Regions from separate parts of the Homo sapiens genome. Here all the other regions are linked to region 3. The links are contacts of gene promoters, found by promoter capture Hi-C in blood cells and fetal thymus (Javierre and others, 2016). All regions are on one chromosome and are shown on one strand. Each heading gives the region's core, a stretch centred on a gene start or on the middle of the fragment in contact. The rest is flanking DNA. Distances are from core to core; before and after follow the strand shown. Region 1 overlaps MRC2 (mannose receptor C-type 2). Region 2 overlaps MRC2 (mannose receptor C-type 2). Region 3 holds the start of CYB561 (cytochrome b561).

The links. The method cuts DNA at HindIII sites, captures the fragments that hold promoters and counts their contacts. A CHiCAGO score of 5 or more calls a contact.
Region 1: a fragment that was not itself captured here is called in contact with the fragment with the promoter of CYB561 in region 3 in 2 of 17 cell types (endothelial precursors and erythroblasts); the score reaches 6.2 in endothelial precursors.
Region 2: a contact is called between a fragment that was not itself captured here and the fragment with the promoter of CYB561 in region 3, in 1 of 17 cell types (endothelial precursors). The highest score is 5.4, in endothelial precursors.

What each region holds. Positions count from the first base shown.
Region 1 is chr17:62,693,011-62,695,862 of GRCh38, reverse strand. It overlaps MRC2 (mannose receptor C-type 2), which reads right to left. Exons shown (of 30, transcript NM_006039.5): 30 at 2,266-2,852. Among named protein-coding and RNA genes, the nearest start is that of MARCHF10-AS1, 12 kb to the left of the region's middle. RefSeq lists an enhancer at 2,600-2,852. The HindIII fragment of the contact is 1,221 bases long and covers 783-2,003 here.
Region 2 is chr17:62,669,178-62,672,121 of GRCh38, reverse strand. It overlaps MRC2 (mannose receptor C-type 2), which reads right to left. Exons shown (of 30, transcript NM_006039.5): 7 at 285-473; 8 at 1-124. Among named protein-coding and RNA genes, the nearest start is that of MARCHF10-AS1, 36 kb to the left of the region's middle. RefSeq lists enhancers at 1-324, 325-825, 1,145-1,903, 1,904-2,663. The HindIII fragment of the contact is 1,064 bases long and covers 1,146-2,209 here.
Region 3 is chr17:63,444,583-63,447,637 of GRCh38, reverse strand. CYB561 (cytochrome b561) reads left to right here and starts at 1,332. Exons shown (of 6, transcript NM_001915.4): 1 at 1,332-1,393. RefSeq lists enhancers at 436-575, 1-746 and silencers at 716-905, 1,076-1,635. The HindIII fragment of the contact is 2,186 bases long and covers 75-2,260 here.

The DNA.
Region 1 (2,852 bases), core at 144-2,643, 750 kb after region 3:
CTCATGATCTGCCTGTCTCGGCCTCCCAAAGTGCTGGGATTACAGGCGTGAGCCACCATGCCTGGCCTAGTGTTACAGCTCTTAAAAGTGGCACGGACCCAAAGAGTGAGGAGCAGCAGCAAGATTTATTGTGAAGAGTGAAAGAACAAAGCTTCCACAGTATGGAAGAGGACCTGAGCGGGTTGCTGCTAGGGGTGGGGTGGGTGGGGAGGACACAGCTTTTATTCCCTTATTTGTCCCCGCCCATGTCCTGCTGATTGGTCCATTTTACAGAGTGCTGATTGGTCCATTTTACAAACCTCTAGCCAGGTACAGAGTGCTGATTAGTGCATTTTTACAGAGCACTGATTGGTGCATTTTACAAACCTCTAGCTAGCTACAGAGCACCAATTGGTGCATTTTTACAGAGCACTGATTTTACAAACCTCTTGTAAGAAAAGTTCTCCAAGTCCCCACTCAACCTAGGAAGTCCAGCTGGCTTCACCTCTCACTGTGGGCAGTGGCAGGGCACTTAACTCACAAAGGGAGCTGTTTGGGCTGCAGGGCTAGATAGCAACTCACTCCAGGGTGAACCTCCCACAGGACTGGGACTCCCTCCCCTGAGTGATTAGGCGCCTTCCATGGGTCCTGCTGTTGCTGGGGCGGCACAGAGAGGATTGCTGGAGGGGGTCCCCTGGGCTCCACCGTAGTCCTGGACTCAGGCCAGCAGCTCATGGGCTCTCCCTAGGGCTCCTGTCTCAGGAAACAGCACCCCATTCACCCTGCAGTCCAGGCGGGAAGCTTGGAGTGCTTCCTGACTCCCACTGCCTTTCCCCAGGCAGATCCCATCCCCAGCAAGGGCATCCGCCATCCCTTCAGTCCAATCTGGCGTTCATTTGCTTTCACAAAGAAACACTGGAAAGACAGGAAACTGACAGGGCAGGAGGGTATAGGCTGGAGGGCGACGGGCAGGGGCAGGACTTGCGCAACATCTATCTTGGGATATCATTTAGGTATCCCACGCAATGCAGACTGCGTGACTGCATTGTCTATTCATAAAAGTGGAAACTTATTTTAAATATCATGAACAGGGCAAAACACACACACACGCACGCGCGCGCACACACACACACACACACACACACACACACACAGAATCTGACCACTACTGCAGTCCTGATCCCAACAAACCACCGTCTTGTTGTGCCTGAATTATTACAAGAGCTTCCGCACCAGCCTTCCTGCTTTCACTCCCCCGTTTCCCATCCATTGTCTATTTCTCAACTCCTAGCCAGAATGATCTTGTTAAAAGGTCAGCCTGATTAGCCATTCCCATTGACTTCCCACTATCCTGAAAATAATGCTACATTCTACCACTGCCTTCAGGGCCTTGGACAATCTGGCCCTGCCTGACTCATCTCAGCCTCAGCCCACCTCGCCTCCCTGCTGGTCCCCTAAAGCACCAGGGATGCCCCCCTAGCCCTGGCCCAGATATTTGCATTGCTCACTCCGCCACCTCCTTCAGGCTGCAGTCAATCTCACTCCCTCTAGTGAGACCCTCCCCAGACACACAGGCCACATTAGCAGCTTCCCCCTGCCTCGCCCGATTGGCGTTGGTTAACCTTCCTTTGTTGGCATCTCCAGCTCAAATACCGGCTGAATGAACAAGCAGGTGAGTAAAGGTCCTGCCGTCCATTCTGCCTTCTGTGGTTTCAGAGCCCAGGCTCCCTAAGGACACATGTGAACTTTCAGGCTGTTAGAGGGCAGGTATGATGGCTGCCTTGGAAGGACGGTGATGTGGAGCCCCCACCCAGGGCCGGCCTGGACACATCAAGTGCTCCCCTGGAGCCGCAGCCCAGAAACGGCAGTAACGCCTAGCGCTTGCAGAGCCCAGAGGCACTGTTCTAAGTGCTCTGCACAGATGAGCTCCCTTGATCCTCACATATCCTTAAAACAACCCTAGGAGGTGGGTCCGGTTCTCCCCACTGTGCACATGTTGAGAGGTGTGCTAAGTTGCCCAAGCTTGCACGGCTGGCTGCTCAGCAGCAGATGGCCTGGCTCCTGAGTTCTCACCCACATTCAAGCCCCCAGGAACAGAGAGAGGGAGGCGCAGGCCCAGAGGGGTGAGCTCCTAAAGATCGGGGGTGAGAGTGTCCCCTAGAGGCCCAGAGACAGACGCAAAATGGCCAGCTGCAGAAAACACCTGTGGTGCAAGCTCCAAAACAACAGTTATCTCCGAAGGGACAGACGTGAAGAAGCAGGCTCACCACAGGACAAGGCAGAACCTTCTCTTTCAAGCCTCTTAAAGGTGTTTTATTTGTTTGCTTTTCTTTTTTCCTTTTTTTTTAAAAACAATAATGGCACATTTAAAAAATCAACTACAGAGAAAGGGCCATGTCTTCGAGTCCATGTTCACATTGTCCCACGCTGTCGCACCAGGATGGGCCGCATACTTTGTCCTGGCTGGGACTGTGGCCTCTTGGAAGGGTACTGGGCCACTCCAGGGCTCGGGTGCTGCTCCTCCTGGATCCACTAGAGGGTGAACTCTGGGCCCTCCCAGACTCCTGCTCCTCTGGGGCCCCCAGGACTCTGGCAACCCTTCCCCTTGCTCCAAACCAGAGCCAGGAGCTGGAGATGTTAGGGAACTTATTTTGGTCCCCACAGGGGACTCTTCCAGGGGCAGAGCCCTCCCCCGCCCGGCAGGAGATGACATCCCAGCCCGGCCCAGCTCCCACCCTGGGAGGTTGGGGTGTCTCTCCCCAGTCTTATCTCCAGCCCAGCAGACACCACACCCGTGCCCTGGTTCTCAGGCCCAACCCACCTAGGCCCCTCCTGCCACGCCCCACAGCCACCCCAGCAGGCACAGGAGTGAT
Region 2 (2,944 bases), core at 428-2,927, 780 kb after region 3:
CTGTCCCGGAAGTTGTTGGGCTCAAAGGGGTGCCAGTGGGTGAAGCTCACAAGGCTCCCGTCAGACCACTCAAAATTCATCTGCAGTTTCAAATCGTTGAGGCCGATCCACAGCTCCTCCACCTCTGGGGGTGCAGCAGGAGAGGAGGGGAGAGAAAACATTGAGAGGTCAGCCTCAGCCACCAGTAGGGAGGAAGGAACATTCTCTGAGGCTCCTGGACAGGATGGGTGGGGCAGTGGGAGGCCCTGCCCTCCACCCAGACACGTGGGCGGGCAGCTCCTCACCTTGCTTGATCTGCTTGGTGATGAATTCCAGCTCCGCCATGCTGTGGATGCTGACCAGGTCGCCACCGCCCCGTAGACATGCCTTCTTGGACTCCTGCCAGCTGCGCTTCTCGGCCTGCAGGCGGTAGCAGTGGCCCTGGAAGGGCTGCCAGCTCGGCTCGCACTCCACCTTCACATTGGCCCACCTGTCTGCAGAGACCCATGAGGCTGCTGCTCAGGGACTGAGCCGCCCAGTCTGGGAACCAACCCACTGGGTTGACGTCAACACAGGCGAGGCCTCCCAGTCACCTCCTCTCCAAACTCTCCCAGATCAATCCCGGTCCCCACCACAGGTCTTGGAAATGCTAAAAAAACACAAAACTTTACAGGGCTGCTGGAGCCCCGGGACAGAGACCCAAGTCGTGGTGGCAGATTCCACCCAGGACAGAACACTTCCTCTGGCTGTGGCTCTCAGAATACGATGGGTGGGCCAGGCATGGTGGCTCAGGCCTGTAATCCCAGCACTTTGGAAGGCTAAGGCTGGAGGATTGCTTGAGCCCAGTAGTTCAAGAACAGACTGGGCAACAAAGGGGAGACCCCATCTCTATAAAAAATAAAAAATTAGCCAGGCATGGTGATGTGCGCCTGTGGTCCCGCTACTCAGGAGGCTGAGGTGGGAGGATCACTTGACCCGGGGAGGTCAAGGCTGCAGTGAGCCATGATTGCACCACTAAACTCCAGCCTGGGCGACACAGCAAGACCTTATCTCAATCAATGCATCAATCAATCAGTCAATAAACGATGGGTAGAAAGGACAAACCAGCCCCATGAACCTCAGTTTCTCCCTCTGTAAATGGGGTTTCCTGCTATGAGATTCAAGCTTGGCTTATGGCCCCCTGCCTAGTAAATGGAATCACTGTTATTCTCTCAAATAACATTTATTGAGCACCCACTCTGTGCAGGTCTGGGAAGCCCAGGAGGGAGAAAACTGGGAAACGGGACCTTGAGCCACTAATGGGGCCCAGGCAAGCCCACCAGGAATCTGAGGTCTTGGTGGACGGGCAACCGAGAACATTAGGAGGTGCTCAAAGTCACTACAGATCGGCCCCATCCCCCAGCTGGGACTCCTTCCCCGCTCCTAACTCCTAACCCTGAACCCCAGGGCTGAGAAATCCACCCGTCCCAGGCCCTCCCTTGCCCCGATTTCCATGCCTTTCAGGTTCACCTTCTAGGGGTTGGGATCCGAGGGCAGCTGAGGCAAACAAGCCCTTACTTGGTCTTGGCAAGAGAAAACAGGACTTCACCAAACCACCCACAGTGTCATGCTCGGGCAGGATTCTGCCTAGTCGGGCAGGAAACTGCGCGCCCACTAGAACACGGCCTCAGACTGGGATTCCAGTGGTCCAGCCACACCTGCTCCTGGAGACCCGGCAAAGCTGGGCGGACTGAGAGCCCGGTGGGCTCGCTCTCTGGCTCAGGACCTGTCAATCATCTCTTGTTAGCCAATGAGCTAAGACCTGAGGCTGCCGCCCCAGACAAGCGGATTTTAGTGGCTGCTGAGACCCGAGGGGCCTCAAGGACCGGAAGGGAGCTTGGGAAATGTGGATGCTTTGGGGACACGACGGGGCGCCTGCCTTCGAAATGACAGGACTTAAGTGATGAGACCGGGAAAGCAGAACCTGCCTAGAATATGCCTCGTGCAGAGAGATATGGGCTGGGCAGAGGGGCGGAAATCCGAGGCCTTACATCTGTCTGCAGGTCCGGGAAGACCCAGAGGACAGAGGACTTGGTAAGGGGCCACAGATAGGCTAGGCATGCCCACACCCGGGCCTCCCAGCGGGCCCCTTCCTTCAGAAAGGTGCTTGTGGGAGGACTGGACTAGGGCCCAAGGCTCCCTCCAGCTAGAGGTGGAGGTGCCCTAGATCGGGTTGCTGACGTTTCAAGCTTCTGCTCCTGGCCCCTTACGGAATGGGAGATAAAGCAGTGGTCAGCAGTCCTGAATCAGGCCAGAGCCGTGGCTCACGCCTGTAATTCCAGCACTTTGGGAGGCCGAGGCGGGTGAATCACTTGAAGACAGGAGTTCGAGACCAGCCTGGGCAACATGGTGAAACCCCATCTCTAAAAATACAAAAAAATTAGCCGGGCGTGGTGGCACACTCATGCCTATAATCCCAGCTACTCGGGAGGCTGGAGCATGAGAATCGCTTGAACCTGGAGATGAGAATCGCTTGAACCTGGGAGGCGGAGGTTGCAGTGAGTGGAGATTGTGCCACTGCACTCCAGCCTGGGCGACAGAGCGAGACTCTGTTTCAAAAAATAAATAAATAAAAATAAAAATAAAAAGGCGGGGTGCGGTGGCTCACGCCTGTAATCCCAGCACTTTGGGAGGCCGAGGTGGGCAGATCACCTGAGGTCAGGAGTTCAAGACCAGCCTGGCCAACATGGTGAAACCCCGTCTCTACTAAAAATACAAAAGTTAGCCGGGAAGTAGTGATGCCCGCCTGTAATCCCAGCTACTCAGGAGGCTGAGGCACGAGAATCTCTTGAGCCTAGGAGGCAGAGGTTGTGGTGAGCCAAGATCGCACCACTACACTCCAGCCTGGGTGACAGAGTGAGACCCTGTCTCAAACAAACAAACAAAAAAACCAGTCCTGAGTCGATCATTGGCAAGACTTCCATGG
Region 3 (3,055 bases), core at 83-2,582:
ACTTTAAATTATCCATTAATTTCCTCCAACTGAAAGATACTCTACAAATTTTCTGTTGTTGGAGGGTTTAAGCTTGGTCCCTCTGAGGGGGTGGGCCCTGCTGTGTCGGCCCCTTGTGTCTGCTCGTGGAAGGTGTGCCATGTGCCACCGTGTGCCATATGCAGCTGACACGCCTGTGCGTCTCGCCTGGCGCTGGAGACTGCTCTCTGTGTACTAAGCGAGTACTGGATCCCCAGGGCCTATCTTGCCCACTGCCTGTGGCAATACACAGGCAATACACAAAGCGCATTCAAGTAAGCAGGTCTCCCTGCCCCCCGGCCTCCCAGAACCTCGGTGCCTGGAGGGCAGGTGGGGGAGGGCGTTCCTGAATGGAGGCCGGTTTCCCTCTGCGGGGAGGAAACCCCATTTCCCTCCTACCCCTAGGCGCTTGCTACATCTGGCCCGGCATCAGACAGGAAAGAACCCTTTCTTCCCAGCTTGTAGGAAGTCTGAGCTGGGCCCCTTATCTACCCACAGCACTTCCTGGACCGGGGGCCTGGACCGGGCTCCGAAGGGGCTGGCTCCCGGTCTTGGTCTTGGCCTCGGCGCCCTCGTTTCTCTGCGCTTTGGGCAGGGGAAGCTGCGGACGGCAAGCTCTCGGCTTTCGTGAGAGCCTGGTGGAATCGGTGTTCCCCGAAGGCTACTCTGCGGGGGCGGGGGCTAGTCCGGGCCTTCCCGGCAGTATCGTCTCCCCCGTGGGGGCTGGGGAGGTGCCCCCAGGGCTCCCGGAGCGGCGGCGTGGCCAAGGCCCGAACCGGGTCTGACATCTAGTGGCCTCCTGGGCCCGGGCAGGGCGAGGGCGGGGCAGGGAAGAAGGTGGAGGGCAGAATGGGAGGCGTGGAGCGAGAAAATCAGGAAGCGCGGGACCAAGCCGGGGAAGGGCGGCGGGTCTCGCCCCTGGCACCCGCTCTCCTCGGGGCCCGTCCCATCCCCCAGGCCTGGCCGACCCCAGGTCCTTCCGTGCGCAGTCGGGGCTCGCAAGGACGAATCCCGCGGCCCTCGAGGCAGGCCCGGGGGAGCTCCCGGCCCTCCACCCCCGCAGGCCGCAGATCCCACGCACCCCCGATCATGGGGGCCCCGGAGGGAGGTCGCGAGGCCGGGCTCACGGTGGCCGCGGTTCGCCCACGTGCGGGCCCGGAGCTGGCAGGGCCCGGTCCCGAGCGTGGCCGCAACCGCGGGGACCTGGCACGTGCGGGGCAGCCCCGGGGGCCGCGTACGCCACTTCCGGTCCCGGAGACACCGCCCAGCCCGCCGCCCGGTTGCCATGGCGACGCCGTCGCGCCACGGCCCGCAGAACCGGCCAAGCGACCCGGGCGCGGCGCGGGGAGGCTGAAGGGACGCTCGGGTAGGCAAGGTAGGAGGCCGGGCTGGGGGTGGGAGCGGAGCGCGCAGGGGTGCGGGGCGGGGGCGGCCCAGGTGAGCCCTGACTGCGCAGGGAGGGACAGCGCGGGGCTCCCGAGTAGCAGCCGGCCTCGCACCTGCCCCTTGCGGCCGCGCACTGGACTGCGGCGCCGACCCGCACCCTGGGCCCGAGGGCTGCAGGGCTCGCCCGCCCTCTCGGAGCCGAGCCTCTCCCGGTCCAGGCGGCCCCTGCCCTGGCCTGCCCGGGTGCCGGGTCTCTGCTGAAGTTAGAACCGAGACCCCCGCTTGCTGGTGACCCCGAGTTTGGATCTTTGCTCCTGCGCCGCGTTCTAGAGCAAGGTAGGGTGCAAATGGACCAACCAGCCTTTGCCACGGCTGCCCTCTTGAAATCTGAAACCGGAGCCACCGCCTCTTGCCCCGAGCAGGGCCCGGGCTGCAACGTGGAGCCGCAGGTCCCCGCCTGTGTCTCCCGACGCCCCCAGCTTCTGAGCGCGAGGGTGGGAGTTTCCCGAGTGGGAAAGCCCCATGGCTTCGGTGGCCTCGGTGGCCCTGTGGTGGGTCAGGCCGGTGCCAACTGCGCTGAGGGCGGAGCTGCCGCCACCTTGACACCTGGGAGATGGCAGGGCCACCCTCCCTCCCTCCCTCCCTGCCCTGTCCCCGACTGTATCACGGAGCGAGGATCATCCGTGTGGATCTGGGGTCCCCTTCCCAGACTTCTCCTTTCTGGTCGTCCTCCTCTCATTCATTCCACCTTGGCAGCCTTTGTGGATTTTCTGACTCCGTAAATGAAGTTACATCTAGGGCGCCTAGATTCTGCCCCTTTGGTTTAATAGCTAATGAAAAAAAAAAAAAAAAAGCTTTGCCACCTCCTCTAGGTGCCTGGATTTCTCCCGGTGAAATTTGATGGAGGCAGGAAAATACGAGGCGGTGGCAGCCCCACCTCCTTGCATGAGGGAGCCTCCTAGAGCTGGAGGTGGAACCACCCTGCTTGTCCCACTCCTTTTCTTTCTTGCTTTATTGCTTTCTTGCTTTCCTTACTTTCCTTCCTTCTTTTTTTTTTGAGATGGAGTCTTGCTCTGTTGCCAGGAGGCTGGAGTGCAGAGGGCAATATCAGCTCACTGCAACCTCCATCTTCCGGGTTCAAGCGATTCTCCTGTTCCAGCCTCCCTAGTAGCTGGGATTACAGGTGTGTGCCACAACACGCAGCTAATTTTTGCATTTTTAGGAGAGACGGGGTTTCACCATGTTGGCCAGGCTGGTCTCGAACTCCTAACCTCAAGTGATCTGCCCGCCTTGGCATCCCAAAGTGCTAGGATTACAGACGTGAGCCACCGTGCCCAGCCTTGTCCTACTACTTTTCTGCCCTCACCACTTTTCCTTGGCAGGCAGAGCTTGGGCTCCTGCTAATACTGGGATGGTTCAGTGGCATTAGATGGCATTGGTGGAGGGGAATGAGAAATTAACCCCCTCTGAAAGCGTAGCTTCACTGGGAAAAAGCACTCTACTGTCTGAACAATTCATAAATGAATTTTGGGAATATACAATGTCACAGATTAAAAGCAGACCATCCTGTGTTCTTCCAGCCCCAGGAGCTTCTGCTTGGTGTGCAGGGGCTAATGGTGGACAGCAATGGAGTGTAGATTTATTAGAGACG